Linked DNA regions of Homo sapiens: all the other regions are linked to region 3. The links are contacts of gene promoters, found by promoter capture Hi-C in blood cells and fetal thymus (Javierre and others, 2016). All regions are on one chromosome and are shown on one strand. Each heading gives the region's core, a stretch centred on a gene start or on the middle of the fragment in contact. The rest is flanking DNA. Distances are from core to core; before and after follow the strand shown.

The links. The method cuts DNA at HindIII sites, captures the fragments that hold promoters and counts their contacts. A CHiCAGO score of 5 or more calls a contact.
Region 1: a fragment that was not itself captured here is called in contact with the fragment with the promoter of JMJD1C-AS1 in region 3 in 1 of 17 cell types (M2 macrophages); the score reaches 5.6 in M2 macrophages.
Region 2: a contact is called between a fragment that was not itself captured here and the fragment with the promoter of JMJD1C-AS1 in region 3, in 3 of 17 cell types (M2 macrophages, endothelial precursors and erythroblasts). The highest score is 7.3, in M2 macrophages.

The regions. Positions count from the first base shown.
Region 1 is chr10:63,514,454-63,518,911 of GRCh38, reverse strand. It overlaps a transcript of JMJD1C not described here. Among named protein-coding and RNA genes, the nearest start is that of REEP3, 4.7 kb to the left of the region's middle. The HindIII fragment of the contact is 1,067 bases long and covers 1,215-2,281 here.
Region 2 is chr10:63,402,010-63,406,929 of GRCh38, reverse strand. All of the region lies in intron 1 of JMJD1C (jumonji domain containing 1C), which reads left to right. Among named protein-coding and RNA genes, the nearest start is that of JMJD1C-AS2, 26 kb to the left of the region's middle. The HindIII fragment of the contact is 4,582 bases long and covers 1-4,500 here.
Region 3 is chr10:63,463,508-63,467,798 of GRCh38, reverse strand. It overlaps JMJD1C-AS1 (JMJD1C antisense RNA 1), which reads right to left and starts at 2,570. Exons shown (of 1, transcript NR_027182.1): 1 at 1,236-2,570. JMJD1C (jumonji domain containing 1C) reads left to right here and starts at 1,822. Exons shown (of 26, transcript NM_032776.3): 1 at 1,822-2,304. The coding sequence starts at 2,137. RefSeq lists enhancers at 1,360-1,409, 1,860-2,029, 2,110-2,179, 1,801-2,590 and silencers at 1,680-1,829, 2,370-2,709. The HindIII fragment of the contact is 1,793 bases long and covers 1,587-3,379 here.

The DNA.
Region 1 (4,458 bases), core at 499-2,998, 52 kb before region 3:
AAGCTTGTTTACATTATACTGGGATAGATAGCGGAACTGTGTTTAAGGCGGTGGGTCCAGCTTGGTGTTGCCCTCCAAGGGGAAACTGGAAGGCATTTTTTAGATTGTTGTAATGATTGGAGCTAACAACTTGCATTTGTTGAGTGAAGGCTAGAGAGGTGTGGGACAGTCCTGAACAAAGTGTCCCCATGTCTTGCATGATTTAAGAATATCTGCCTGACTTTCATGTAGTATTTGTAATTATCAAAGCCTGGAACCTCCATCTTGCATCATGATTTTAACTGAGACTGAATTTTAACTGAGTCTGTTTCCACATGCAACGGTTATGTGAATTGAAGGAAGATTGTTTTGTTCACAACTTGACCAAGAATTGTTTACAGTTTTGGAAAATTGTATCACAAACAGCTCTGCATTCATAGATATATTCAGCTACTAGTTACTTCTTTAAGTCTTCTAGTGTAGTTTTGCCCCACGTCGAAATATATGTTATTATAAATCATTTTCATGTCTCTTTTCCACTCTTATTTAGGGTATATGGATTTGTTTGAAATTGTAGGAATATTGTTATTTTGTTTCAGGGTGGTAAAGCAGAAGTTGGAAAATATTTTATGCAAGGGGCACATTGAATCTGATGTGGTTGAGAACTGTTGATCTAAAGTAAGAGTAACTTCATCTGAGAAGAGTCTCTCATGAAAAGTGCCCAGATTTTAGTGGAGGGTGTTTATAATTTCTGTGTATTGGACTGTGTCTCAGATACACAGAAATCTGCCAAATTTATTAGCAGATAGTTGAGATTTGCTAAGAAATAAGTGGCCATTATGCTGGGTGCGGTGGCTCATGCCTGTAATCCCAGCACTTTGGGAGGCCGACAAGGGCAGATCACTTGAGGCCAAGAGTTCGAGGCCATCCTGGCCAATGTGGCAAGACCTCATCTCTACTAAAAATACAAAAATTAGCTGGGCATGATGGTGCACACCTGTAATCCCAGCTACTTGGCAGGCTGAGGCAGGAGAATCACCTGAACCTGGGAGGCGGAGGTTGCACTGAGCTGAGATTGCACCACTGCACTCCAGCTTGGGTGACAGAGTGAGACTCTGTCTCAAAAAAAAAAAAAAAAAAAAAAAAGTGGCCATTAGATAAGTACTTCACTGTATAAGATAAGGTGCTAGGGGCACTGGGAGAAAAGGAAATATAGTACCTTCTGCCTAGAAGCTTTTATAGTGTGGTCTCTTGGAGTGCTTGAAATCATTTCTTATATAGAAGATATGATTTCTTTAAGTACTGAACTTAATTTTGATTTTATACATATATCACTAATATTCATACATTGTGCTATATAAAGCGCATCCTTCATTGTGTTCTGCAAAGACACTTTTCTTCTCTGAGGAAGGCAATGTATTTAGGGCAAAGGACATTCTCACAGGAGACCTAGTTCTACTACCGGTAATAGGATGTTTGGTAAATCACACTGTATGTTTCCTGTTGAATATGGGGATGATACTGTTATGAAGATCAAAAATAAGAGGCTTTAAAATCTAAGGGTAATTAGACTGTTAAAAGCATTGGTTTCTCTTTTAAATATTAGTTTTCCTAGGAGATATGTGGAATGTGCATCTTCTGCATGTTAAAAGAGTTCATTTATTAGCAGAGCAACAGAGACTAAGAAAGTACCTAGGAGAGCAGGTAGTGAGAGCAGAATTAGAGGGTACAAAGATAATGTCTGATCGCTGTAATTATTAATGAGAATGCTAATGAGACTGAATACTAGGTCACCTTCGCATTTCTATTAAGAGAGCATTTTCAGTGGCTAAAAAATATATTTATTTGGAGAAAGGCTAAAATTACTAAATGAGTCTGTCTTTCATAGTTGTTTAGAAAATAGGGGGAGAGAGAGGATCTTAAGAAGACTGACATAACAGAAGAAAGCTGTTCTTTTTCTGTCTGCTGCTAGATGGATACCTCTTTTCTCTCAGGCAGTCGCTTATGGAATTATGGTTACAACAGAGGTTCAGTTTGGCTTCAGAGATTGAATGATAATGAAATGATACTGAAAATACAATGATCAGATAGCAATAGAATAAAAAGATTAGGTTCTGATTAAGTATTCACTATAGGTATTGGTAGAAAAAGATGGTGACTAGCTGACAACACAAAAAGTAAAATACATCTGTGATGGCTGGATCTGGGAAGCACACACAGTAAGAAATTGACATTATCTGAGATTCTTACACATTTCCAGTAGTAGCCTTAACTATAACAATTAAGGATTTAGACAGAAGCTTTTGTTTTTCCTTCATGGTAAAATATGGTTTTGTGTTTGACCATGTTAAGTGGCAGAGAAACATCTAGTTTAAGATAATTGAGGTACTTTTACTATTTATTTAAAATAGAATAGATTAAATCAGGGTTTTAAGCTCAAGATAGACTTATGATTTCAGGTATTCAGGTGCATATGGGGTTGTGGTATAATTTGCCAAATCTGAAATATTTGATAATGACATCATGTCTAGTAAGCAGAATTTCAACAGATTTCTGTTGATGTCTTGAGTGATAATTCAAAGCACGTGGAATAAATTTAAAAGGGAACAGTGAAAAATTAGTCTTTTTTTCTTCCCTGTTTCCAGCTACTCAGTTCATTTCACAGGCAGTCTCTGTTCCCAGGTTTTTTTTTTTTTTTCCCTCAAAGTCCAGAAACATACCCAATTATTAATAGATATTTAGTCTAAGATAAAGACAGCATTTTATGGTTTTTGGAACACGATGGAATTATTCAGTAAACGATGTGACAACCAGCCAGCCATTTAATAAAAACTGAAGAAAAAAAATTCTGATAGGTAGGAAATGGAAAAACTGAAAGTACCATAAAAGTACAAAAAAATAGATAAAGGTATTATATTCTTGATAGCAGGAGGACCTTTCTGTCGTAAAATCAGAAACCATAATCATAGATTTGAGTATACAAGAATTGAAACTCCTGTGCCTCCAAAACCAATATAAACAAGATTAAAAGACAGATGACAAACTAGGAAAAAATTTGTAAAACCTGACAGAGGGTTTTTTGTCTGATTTTTGGGTATATATCTTCATATACAAAGCACTCTTAAAAACTATTAAGAAGTAATCTCTGAAGACTTCCAATTTCCAGTGTAGCATGTAAGGAGCTCAGTAATTGCCACTTGGTCCTGACAACAAATAAATAACTGAACAAAATGAAGAATAGACAACACTTCTTAGATTCCTCAGATAAGTGAAGTCACAGGGCAAACCACATCCTCCAAAACTGGAGAGACAGACAGCTGGATACAGAGAATCACAACTACTGAAGCAGAAACCGAGGATCAGAAACCCCTGAGGGAACCAGTACCCGGGTAGGAAAATCTGAGCTGTAATTGAGGAGTTGCTGGAGGCTCAGTGTGGACAAGTCTGAGACCTAAAAGCTCCAGGGAGAGCCAGTCCTAAGGAAGCCCCCGTAGTTTTGTGAGATTTACTTCCTGGAGCTCTACCAGGTCCTCACAGTAAATATTTGAGAAAAATCCTCTTACGCTGTCAGCTGGAGAAGGGAGAAGTGAAACATTTTGAAATACACCAAGGTATTCTGTTCTTAACAAGGCCTGCCCTCAGGAGAAATTATTTCTCTTAGAACCAAACCTAACTGGGGAATGGGAAAAATGCAGCTCCAGTCAACTCTAGCCCTCCACATGGAGAAAAGGAAATTCCTAACTCCACCTCCCTCTAGACTTCCAGTTGTGGGAAGGGAAATAACTTCAGCCCTCTCCAGCCACCCTGTTCCATTTGAAGGGAGGAAAAAACCTGAGAAATGCTGGTGGAAGGTCACAGTCTAGAGGCACGGGCTCACCAGAGGACTGAGACCTAATCCTAGGCCTATAGAATGCTTCTCCTCCCCCATCACCCTAGTACTGCATTACAAAACACCTGTTTACTGTAGGCTTTAAAAAAAAAAATACTTAGTATTATTATGTCCACCTTTAACAAAAAATTACAGGCATACTAAAAGGCAAAAACTGTAGTTTGAGGAGACCAAACCAAACATCAGAACCATAGCTAAATATGGCAGGAATGTTGGAAATATCAGACCAGAAATTTTTTTACGTATTTTTACTTTTTTTTTAAGCTTTTATTTTAGATTCTGGGGTACATGTGTGTGGTCTGTTACCTAGGTATGTTGCATGATGCTGAGGTTTGGGGTCTGAATGGTCCCGTCACCCAGGTACTGACCTTAGTATCCCACAGTTTTTCATCCCTTCCACCCCCTCCCTCCCTCCTCTAGTAGTCTCCAGTGTCTATTGTTGCCATCATTATGTCAGTGAGTACCCAGTGTTTAGCTCCCACTTATAAGTTAGGGCATGCAGTATTTGGTTTTCTGTTCCTACCTTAATTTGCTTAGGATAATGACCTCCAACTCCATCCATGTTGCTGCAAAAGGACATGATTTCATTC
Region 2 (4,920 bases), core at 960-3,459, 61 kb after region 3:
TTGAAACCTTACAATCCTCATCATCCAGCATGTTAATTATTATTCTTTGAGTCCTACATTCATTTCACAATTTGACTTTTGTAAGTGTCTTGACTGAAGTGTAATGATAGAGCCCTGTGGAATATATTTGAAGACATTTTATCAATTTTACTTTAGTTCTTGGTTAATATTATAAGTTATGGTTGTTTATTCCAGCTATCAGTACCTGCTTGTGCTGTATTATTGAGTTTTTATTTTTTTATTTTATTCCTAAGAATATTTTCAGGATATTTTCCCATACTATTTTGCTTAAAAAAAAATCTAGTGTTGGATTAGTTATACTAGCCTACCTAAAAAGAAGAAATTTATTGATAATAAAAATTTAACATCACTTGTAGGGAAATAAAATTACCTCTTGGTGTAGCCTTTTTTCTTTTTTTATGCCTTTAAACCATCTTACAAATAAAAACTTCTGGACTTTGATATGGACACATATTGATGGATTATTAAACTTTTACACTTGAAACTTCTGTGATTGTTTGATACATATTTTCTAGGAAACGTTTTTCTTCATGTCCAAAATTGCTTATTAGAAACTGTTCTCTTCCAGTATTGTTTTCCACACATTGGAGATGCATACATGCCTAATTCCGACCTGTGATTAGTTAAGCTCCACAGAAAAAAACTAAATTTAAAAGTGACTAGATATTCTCTGTCTTCTTATTTGCTCTTCATTTACTTTTTAACTATGTTTCTTCTACCTTTTCCAGTTTTTTATTCAATTCTCCTTAGTGGAGAAGATGGATACAAAGCAGGAGGTGTGAGTAGTTGTTTATTTTGTCTGCATCTGTTAATATTACACCATCTTTCCCATGTAATATTCTTGTTTCTTCTTAGTTTAGCCTCCTGAATTTATGCAGGCAATGGGCTTGTTTGGTTTTCCTTTGTATTACTTATAAAATGTAGTTTGTTCTGATAACGTTCTTATAAGATTGATGATATTAATCTGTATATATGCATATTTGTTTCTCTCCTGTTATATATATGTCCTTTAAAAATTGGACACCAGAAACTATGTAGCCTCATTGTTTTACTCATCCCCTTCATTTATTCAGTCCACTGACAGTAAGTTCCTAATGTATGTCAGGCCCTGAGAAATCAAATATTGATATTACTTTTTACTACTAGAGTTACTACTTTCACAGGAAATGTCTGCTGCATTTTCTTATTAGAATTATTGACATCTATAGAATTAAAAAATACATCTTTTGCTTTTTTGTCTCCCATCCATATTGTCAAGTACTGTTTCCTTTTAAATGTACATGTGGGGCTGGGCGCTGTGGCTCATGCCTGTAATCCCCGCACTTTGGGAGACTGAGGTGGGTGGATCACTCAAGCCCAGAAGTTTGAGACCAGCCTGGCCAACGTGGTGAAACGTCGTCTGTATTAAAAATACAAAAAAATTAGCTGAGCTTGGTGGCGCACACCTGTAATCCCAGCTACTTGGGAGGCTGAGGCATGAGAATCGCTTGAGCTTTGGAGGCAGAGGTTGCAGTGAGCTGAGATCATGCCACTGTACTCCAGCATGGACAACAGAGCAAGACTCCATCTCAAAAAAAAAAAAAAAAAAAAAATCTACATGTGGTATTAAAGTAGACTCAGGTTTGAATTCTGACTCTCCCATGTATTAGCTGTGTAACAGATAAATCACTTAATCTTTTTGGGTCTTGAGTTCTCATCTGAAAAACATATTTAATACCTACTTTATAGGATTTAATTGAGAGAATTGAGGTGCTAAAAATGAAGTGAGAGAATGTACATACATGTGTTGTATAAACTTCTTAAATTTAAAAAGTTATATGATGGTAGTATTTTTATAAGGATTGCTATTCACATATTTATCCTTGCACTCTGTTTGAAATATAATTGTAGTTATCCTTGGGAGCAAGAACTAATTGTATCATGTTGATCCTTAAACATTGCAGCTGGTAAATAGCAAAGACTCCTACTTTTTGGATTGAATTTCTTCAGAAAATGGACTTAGAACAAGTGTTAAGGTAGTTGCTATTTCTTTTCACCCCATGTACTGCTTTTGTTTCATTTTAAAATTTAATGTTAAAACATTCTTTATATGACCAATTTTTGTTACATATTTATAAGTTAATAATTGCTTCTCTTTATCCTCCTTCCCTAATTACTATGTTGTCACCCTTGGCTTTATGGATTTTAGATGTTTTACATCTCTGCTACTCAGTAACCTTTCTTGTTCAGATCTGTTTTTGAAAAGATAAATTATACAGACGTGTTACTATATTCCAATCATAAATTTCATTTTTCTTCTTTTTTCATATTAAGAGATAATTTTTACTTCTTCATGTTAAAATCTCAAATATATCTTAATACTTACTGGGTATGCTAGCACGTAGCTATAGTTATTCAGCTACTCAGGAGGCTGAGGCACAAGGATCCCCCGGAGTTCAGGAGTTTAAGGCCTGCCTGGGCAACATAGCAAGGCCCTATCTGTTTAAAAAGAAAAAAAAATTAGCATGTGGTTCCACTACTGGAATATAAAAAGCCAAGATTAAAAATATTAGTGTGTCGTATATCTTTTCTCTCTCTGCTTTTTTTGGTCTCGTTTGTTTTGAAATGAGACTGGCCAATTTATCTGTTGGTTCTTCCTAAAATCAAATTTGCTGTTTCTCTAAATAACTGCATTTTATGTGTCCTTACTCTTTTTAACGTTTCATTACAGTGCAGTCTTGATCATGGTGACAAATATCTGTCCAAATATTGTCTCTCTAGTCTTTATGAAGTACATCATTCACTTTTTTTTTTTGAGATGGAGTCTTGCTCTGTTGCCCAGGCTGGAGTGCAGTGGTGCAATTTCAGCTCACTGCAACCTCTGCCTCCTGAGCTACAGCGATTCTCCTGCCTCAGTCTCCTGAGTAGCTGGGACTACAGGTGCGTGCCACCATACCAGGCTAATTTTTGTGTTTTTTGTTGTTGTTTTTTTTGAGACAAGAGTCTCACTCTATCGCCCAGGCTGGAGTGCAGTGGCGCAATCTCGGCTCACTGCAACCTCCGCCTCCTAGGTTCAAATGATTCTCCTGCCTCAGCTTCCCAAAGTGCTGGAATTACAGGCGTGAGCCACCACGCCCGGCCTTTTTGTATTTTTTAGTAGAGATGGGGTTTCACCATATTGGCCAGGTTGATCTCAAACTCCTGACCTTGTGATCCGCCTGCCTTGGCCTCCCAAAGTGGTGGGATTACAGGTGTGAGCCACTGCGCCTGGCCTGTACATCATTCTTTTAAGTTGGAAAAAAGAAAGGAAAACCAATGCTTAAACAGCGTTCGCACTTAAGGTCTGTTGGTTACTTTGTTAAGTCCTTTTGTTGTCATGCTTAATCCTTAAAACAGCCCTCTGAAATACTATTAATTTTGACTAACTTGAAAACTAAGGCTCAAAGACATTGTGTTCAATGTCTCTGGTTCTAATTCCAAAGAACATTGAATATGTCATTTCACAAGCTCTTATATGGTATTACCTATGTAACTTGATCATCTGATGTGAAGACCTTAAGTGATTTTAAGTACCACCTTTATTAGATTTTAGAAATATTATAAGTACTCTTTATTCATTGTCAGTCTTACTAAATTGGTACTTATCTGGAATGTACTTTGGAAGTTTGTTTCTGAAGTTTTAAAAAGTTACACAGTTTGGATAAGTAATGTACATTTGAGTGGTAGGATGACTTATACTAGCTTTGGGCATCCCTTGGCTTTCCTGGTGACACTTAAATTTCCAGCTTGCTGACACTAACCTCTTTCTCTTAAGAAAATAAAAGCAGAGATCCAGAGAGTGGTCTGTCCGTCTCAGTTTTTCCTTAACTTTCTTTTGGTTTCAAACATTATTTCAATCATGCTTTCCTTCTACCGTGATGGAAAAATGAGCTTGGTATGTTTTAGGAATAGGAAGAAGATTACCATACTGATCCGTAGAGTAAGGGACAAGTGGTTGTTAGCAAGGTCAGAGGAGTCTGCAGAAACCAGATCTTCAGGGACTTAACTAGCATAAAGAGTTTAGATTTTATTCTAGTACCCTGGAATGCTAAATTTTAAAATAAGGGGCATGATTTGACATCTTTTTTGAGGTTTTTAACATGTTATTCCACACACAAAAAGGAAGATTTAAAAATATACCCATTAAACTGCTAAAAAGTAAATCGAGTGGTGAGAATCTAACAGAAGTCTAATTTCTAGTATGTTTATTATATGGTTGTAGTTACAGGGACTCTTCCTAGCTTAAAGCTGGGGCTCTGGAGGCTATTTTATACTTTAGTGCAACATGATAGGGAATTAAAGTGCAGAAATGTTGGTTTATTATCACATTTTTCTATCCCAAAGTGGCATGAAGAAAACAGCTACTTGACTGCACAGCTTTTGGGAATGGGGATAAGGCATTATGATATTCCTAAAAACATCCTGTTCAGATGAGTGTTACATATCATCAGGTATTAAGCTTCTGCTCATTTACACAGTCACAATTTCATTTATTCACTCAACACAAAGGACTAACAATTTTTAAAAAGAAAAGGGAAAGTGGAAAGTTTATTTTAACGAAATGTTACAAGTATTCTTCGTAAATGTACTTACTTTCTCATTTTATATGTAAATTATGGTTTTAATTTTTTATTTCTCTGATGATTTGTGATATTGAGCATTTTTTTCATGAATTTTGACCATTTTTTAGCCCTTTGTATGTTTGCTTTTGAAAACAATCCCCTGCCCACTTTTTTTGTTTTTTTTTCTTTTTTTTTGAGACGGAGTTTGCTCTTGTTGCCCAGGCTGGAGTGCAATGGCGCTATCTGGGCTCATTGCAAACTCTGCCTCCCAGGTTCAAGCGATTCTCTTTCCTCAGCTTCCCGAGTAGCTGACATTACA
Region 3 (4,291 bases), core at 1,321-3,820:
ATGACTTGGTATCTGGATGTTGATCTCCCTACTCTTTTATCCTTACATATGTTGAATTATTGTCACCAAGTCACTTTACTGGTTCCTTAATCTACACTGATTTTAGAAATCTTCATCTGTAATTCTTAAGATAATTTGCTAAGTATTATACAGTGTACACTGAAAAAGTGGACTTGGAAATAAAATTGCCCAAGCAAAATTTTTTCTCTCAACTTGCCGATATGCATTTTTGGGTATGTTTTGCTGTTTTAATTTATTACAGGTTTTTTGTTTGTTTGTTTGTTTTCGGGGGGACTGAGTTTTGCTCTTGTTGACCAGGTTGGAGTGCAGTGGCACGATCCCGGCTCACTGCAACCTCCAGCTCCCAGGTTCAAGTGATTCTCCTGCTGCCTCCTGAGTAGCTGGGATTACAGGCATGCTCCACCATGCCCAGCTAATTTTTTGTATTTTTAGTAGAGACTAAAAATACATTTAGTTTCATCATGTTGGCCAGGCTGGTCTCGAACTCCCGACCTCAGGTGATCTGCCTCCTAAAGTGCAGGGATTACAGGCGTGAGGCACCGTGCCCAGCCTATTTATTACAGTTCTATGTTTGGTCTTTGGCAAAATTTGACCATGATTATTAAAATCCATCTTCCTTATAATTTTGGTTTCTAACCTATTAGCAGTGGTTGTGTTTCTCCACTTCAAATTGCCCAGCTTGAGTGTTCTAGAGAAAACAGATAAAAGCCTTATAGTTATTTTAAACATTCAGATTACTACTGTAAACTCTGTTAACTTTTTTTTTTTAAATAGAGGTTCAGGAAAATCTCAAGAAACTGAAATTTAGAATATTGGACTACCTATAAAAAAGCAGTATAAAGGGTGCCTGAAATCGAACTGCTCACTGACATTTGTAGGGAGGTTTGATTTATAACAAATAAGTTGATCAAAGAAGAGTGATTGTTCCAAGTTAGAGATCTTTGTGTGGGTTAGGGAGTCCGATTGTAATTGGATGGGAAATAAATATTTTTTTTCTTGAATTGTGATTGGCTAAAATCCTTTTCTTTCCATGGTATTTTCTAATAACTGAATCTGGGGATTTTCTCTGCTTTTATTATCTGACCAGTGTGTTTGAGCTGTGTACCAGTACTAAAAGTACTAAGACTGTCGCAGACACGGTTTGTGAAATTTCAGGACGTTGACAAGGGCCCGCCACGGAGCATTTGCTGTTCTTATAATAAAGCAGTGACGAATTTAAATCTGTGAATAGCTTAAACATGTAATTAGTATCACCACAAATGAGAAGAATGAAAGGATCACATTTTCCCCCTCGTTTTCCCTTGAAGTCATGAACGGTTGGTTCTGCTGTGACTTTGGGGCTTAGTTTTCAGTAGAAGTGTTGTCCTGCTCTGCTGCTGTTACTGCGGGACTGCTAATTCAGGCTAACTCAGGCGGCGGGCGCTGTGTGCTCTGAACATCAAACCGCGGGTGAGGCGTCAACCCAGGAGTTTATTTTGTGATCAGAGTGGAACCACTACACTTCACTTTCCCCTCACCTCCACCTCTGAGGGAGCAACGAATACAAAGGTAGACCCCCAAAAGCTTTGAATAGCTGTCGCCTACTTTCCCGCGGCCCTCTTCATTTTTTCGTCTCCCGCTGCCGCCGCCGCCGCCGCCTCTGGATCTGGACGGACCCAGTGGCCGCTGCCGCCTCCGCAGGGCCGGGCACTACTTTCCGTCTGCGGTGGTTCCGCCGACCCTCCCGCGGCTGCTGCCCCGCCCGCGCCGGCGGAAGGAGACGCGCTGCGCGCCGCCGCTGCCCGGGGAGGGAGACGGAGCAGTACTGGCCGCGGCGCGGTGGCGGCGGCTGGGCTGCCTCGGGGTCTTCGACGGCCGCGTTGGGTTTTGTTTCAGTTTTCTTGTGTGGCGCTGCAGCACAAGGCTGCGAATCTGGGAGTCCAAAGGAGTGTTTGCGGGGAGGGCCCGAGGTCGCTGTGTCCGGGGCAGAGCGGCCGGTTCGTCCCGAGTCTGCGCTCTTTCGGGTCCGCTGCTGTGTCCCGGTCCGCTCTCCTCAGCATGAGCGGCCGGTAGGAGTGAGGTTTCATCGGTTCCCTCGCACTGGAGGAGGCAGCGGCCGCTTCGGCAGCGACAGCTATGGCGGTAGAGACGCGGGCAGAGCTGGTGGGTAAGCGGTTCCTGTGTGTGGCGGTCGGCGACGAGGCACGTTCGGAGCGCTGGGAGAGCGGACGCGGCTGGCGAAGCTGGCGAGCGGGGGTCATCCGAGCCGTGTCACACAGGGACAGCCGCAATCCGGACCTGGCGGTAAGAGAGTCAGCGCCCCCCTTTTCCCCTGCCGCGCCCGCACCCGGCTCTCGCAGACGTACCTTGCAGGCTTCCCTCTGGCGCCTCGCTCAGCCCGGCCAACTGGCGGTCACGCCCCTCTGCTGAACCCTTGGCGCGTTTGCCCGCATCCCTTGCCTGGGTCCCTGCGTCTCTCCGAGCGGCTTCCCCTGTGGAGGTGGTGTCGGAGCAGGACTCCCGGGATAGCCGCGGAGGCTGCCCTGGCCCCCATCCCGGAGGGGTCGACCGCGGCTCCCCGCTGTGGCGCCTGGGCGGCCACGGAGACCTCCCCGAAAGGCGGAGCCGCGAGTCCGGCGCCGCGCGGGCAGGTGGGGGTAGGGGGCGGACCACTCATGGCGACAGGCGGCCAGCTTCCCTGGTATCTCTTTTCTTGGAAAAGTCTTCATAGTGCTGTAGCTCGAGACTTAAAACTTATCCTGTAAGGTTGCTGAAGGGGAGGGAGAAAAGAAAAGAGACCTTCCCACACAGTCCGGGGATTCCTATGTGTTTTAGAGGCAGAGGCCGTGGTGGTGGCTGTGCCCGGATTCATCCTCTCCTTAATAGATGCTTGGCTTTCTAACCGTAAAGGATAAAAGTGAAAAATTTTGGTATGGAGGGTAATCTCTCTTTCTGTCCCCAATGTGCTTTTCTTGTTAGAAAGGTATAGTTCTTTGGAGTCAAGCTGTTTCTGGGTTTTATACGATTTTAAATAAGACGAAAAATGTTGTCAATTAAAATGTTAAATGCCATGCAGAATTGATTATCTTTTTTTTTTTTTGGTTTCTTACATGTGACGCTGCCAGTGCTTTCTTTGAGTAGCGTAGGTATGTGCATGATATTGAGCTGTAATATGCTCTGTTGTGTTCCAAGTACATTCTCACTGAGGGACAGCTTGAAGGTAAGGGGCGGAGTAGAGACAAGACATGGACTAGACTTCCAAAGGTTGATTTATGAATACGTAATCTGTGAAATTTATTTGTAATGCCCTGAGCCATTTACTTTTTCAATGAAAACTTCAAATTTAGGAAATTTTTTTCCCTTTGTGTGCATGAAAGCTTACAATTCCAAATTCATTGTAATATTTGTACAGGTATCTACCTAATATTTTTTACCTACCTATTTTAATAGTTTCTGAGTGTGTTTTTGTAAACTCGGGTTTTCCTCACTGTAGTCAATGATATGGTTAATGCGGCATGTATTAATATTGACTCGATATCGCAAAATAGGTGTGTTTTGCTGATAGGTATTTCTAACAGAAAATAGAGGTAGTTTTGAAGGTTTTGGCTGGTTATTTTCGTATAGAAATGTATAATCTTCCTTAAAAAGTATTGGTGATGTTAGTGGTTCTAAAAATTATGGCAGTTCAATTCAGTAACTATTTTTGTTTGTGTAAAAGGCTGAGGTAAGAGGATTGCTAGAGCCCAGGACTTATTAAGAGTCCAGCCTGGGCAACATAGGTGAGACCCCCTCATCTGTAAAAAAGGAAAAAAAAAATTTGTATATATAAATAACTTAATTGCTCTCTTAGTTGGGAATTTAAGTGATTAAAGAGTTAAGTTTGCATATGTTAGTAAGGTATTAAGCTGGATATTAAAAAATAAATTATCTATGGATGGTAGAGATTGACTGGAAAGAATAGGAGTTTCTTCAGGTGATAGAAATGTTTCCTATCCTGATTGTTGGTTACACAGATATATATATTTGTCAAAACTCGTTGAATTGATACTATCTTTGCGTTTCACCATATCTAAATTTTACCAAAAAAAGAAAAATGTATGTTGAACCATACCTATGTGAACCCTTGATGAGTTTTTTTAATCTGTCTTTATTTGAAAATTTGAATATTAATTTAGTTTTTTTAGCCTAGAATCTACCATTTTAGATTTATTCCCAGATTTTCTTACATTCACATTTCTTAAACGAAACTTGGAACAGTTTAGCATTAACATAATGTAATATTCCTGTTCGA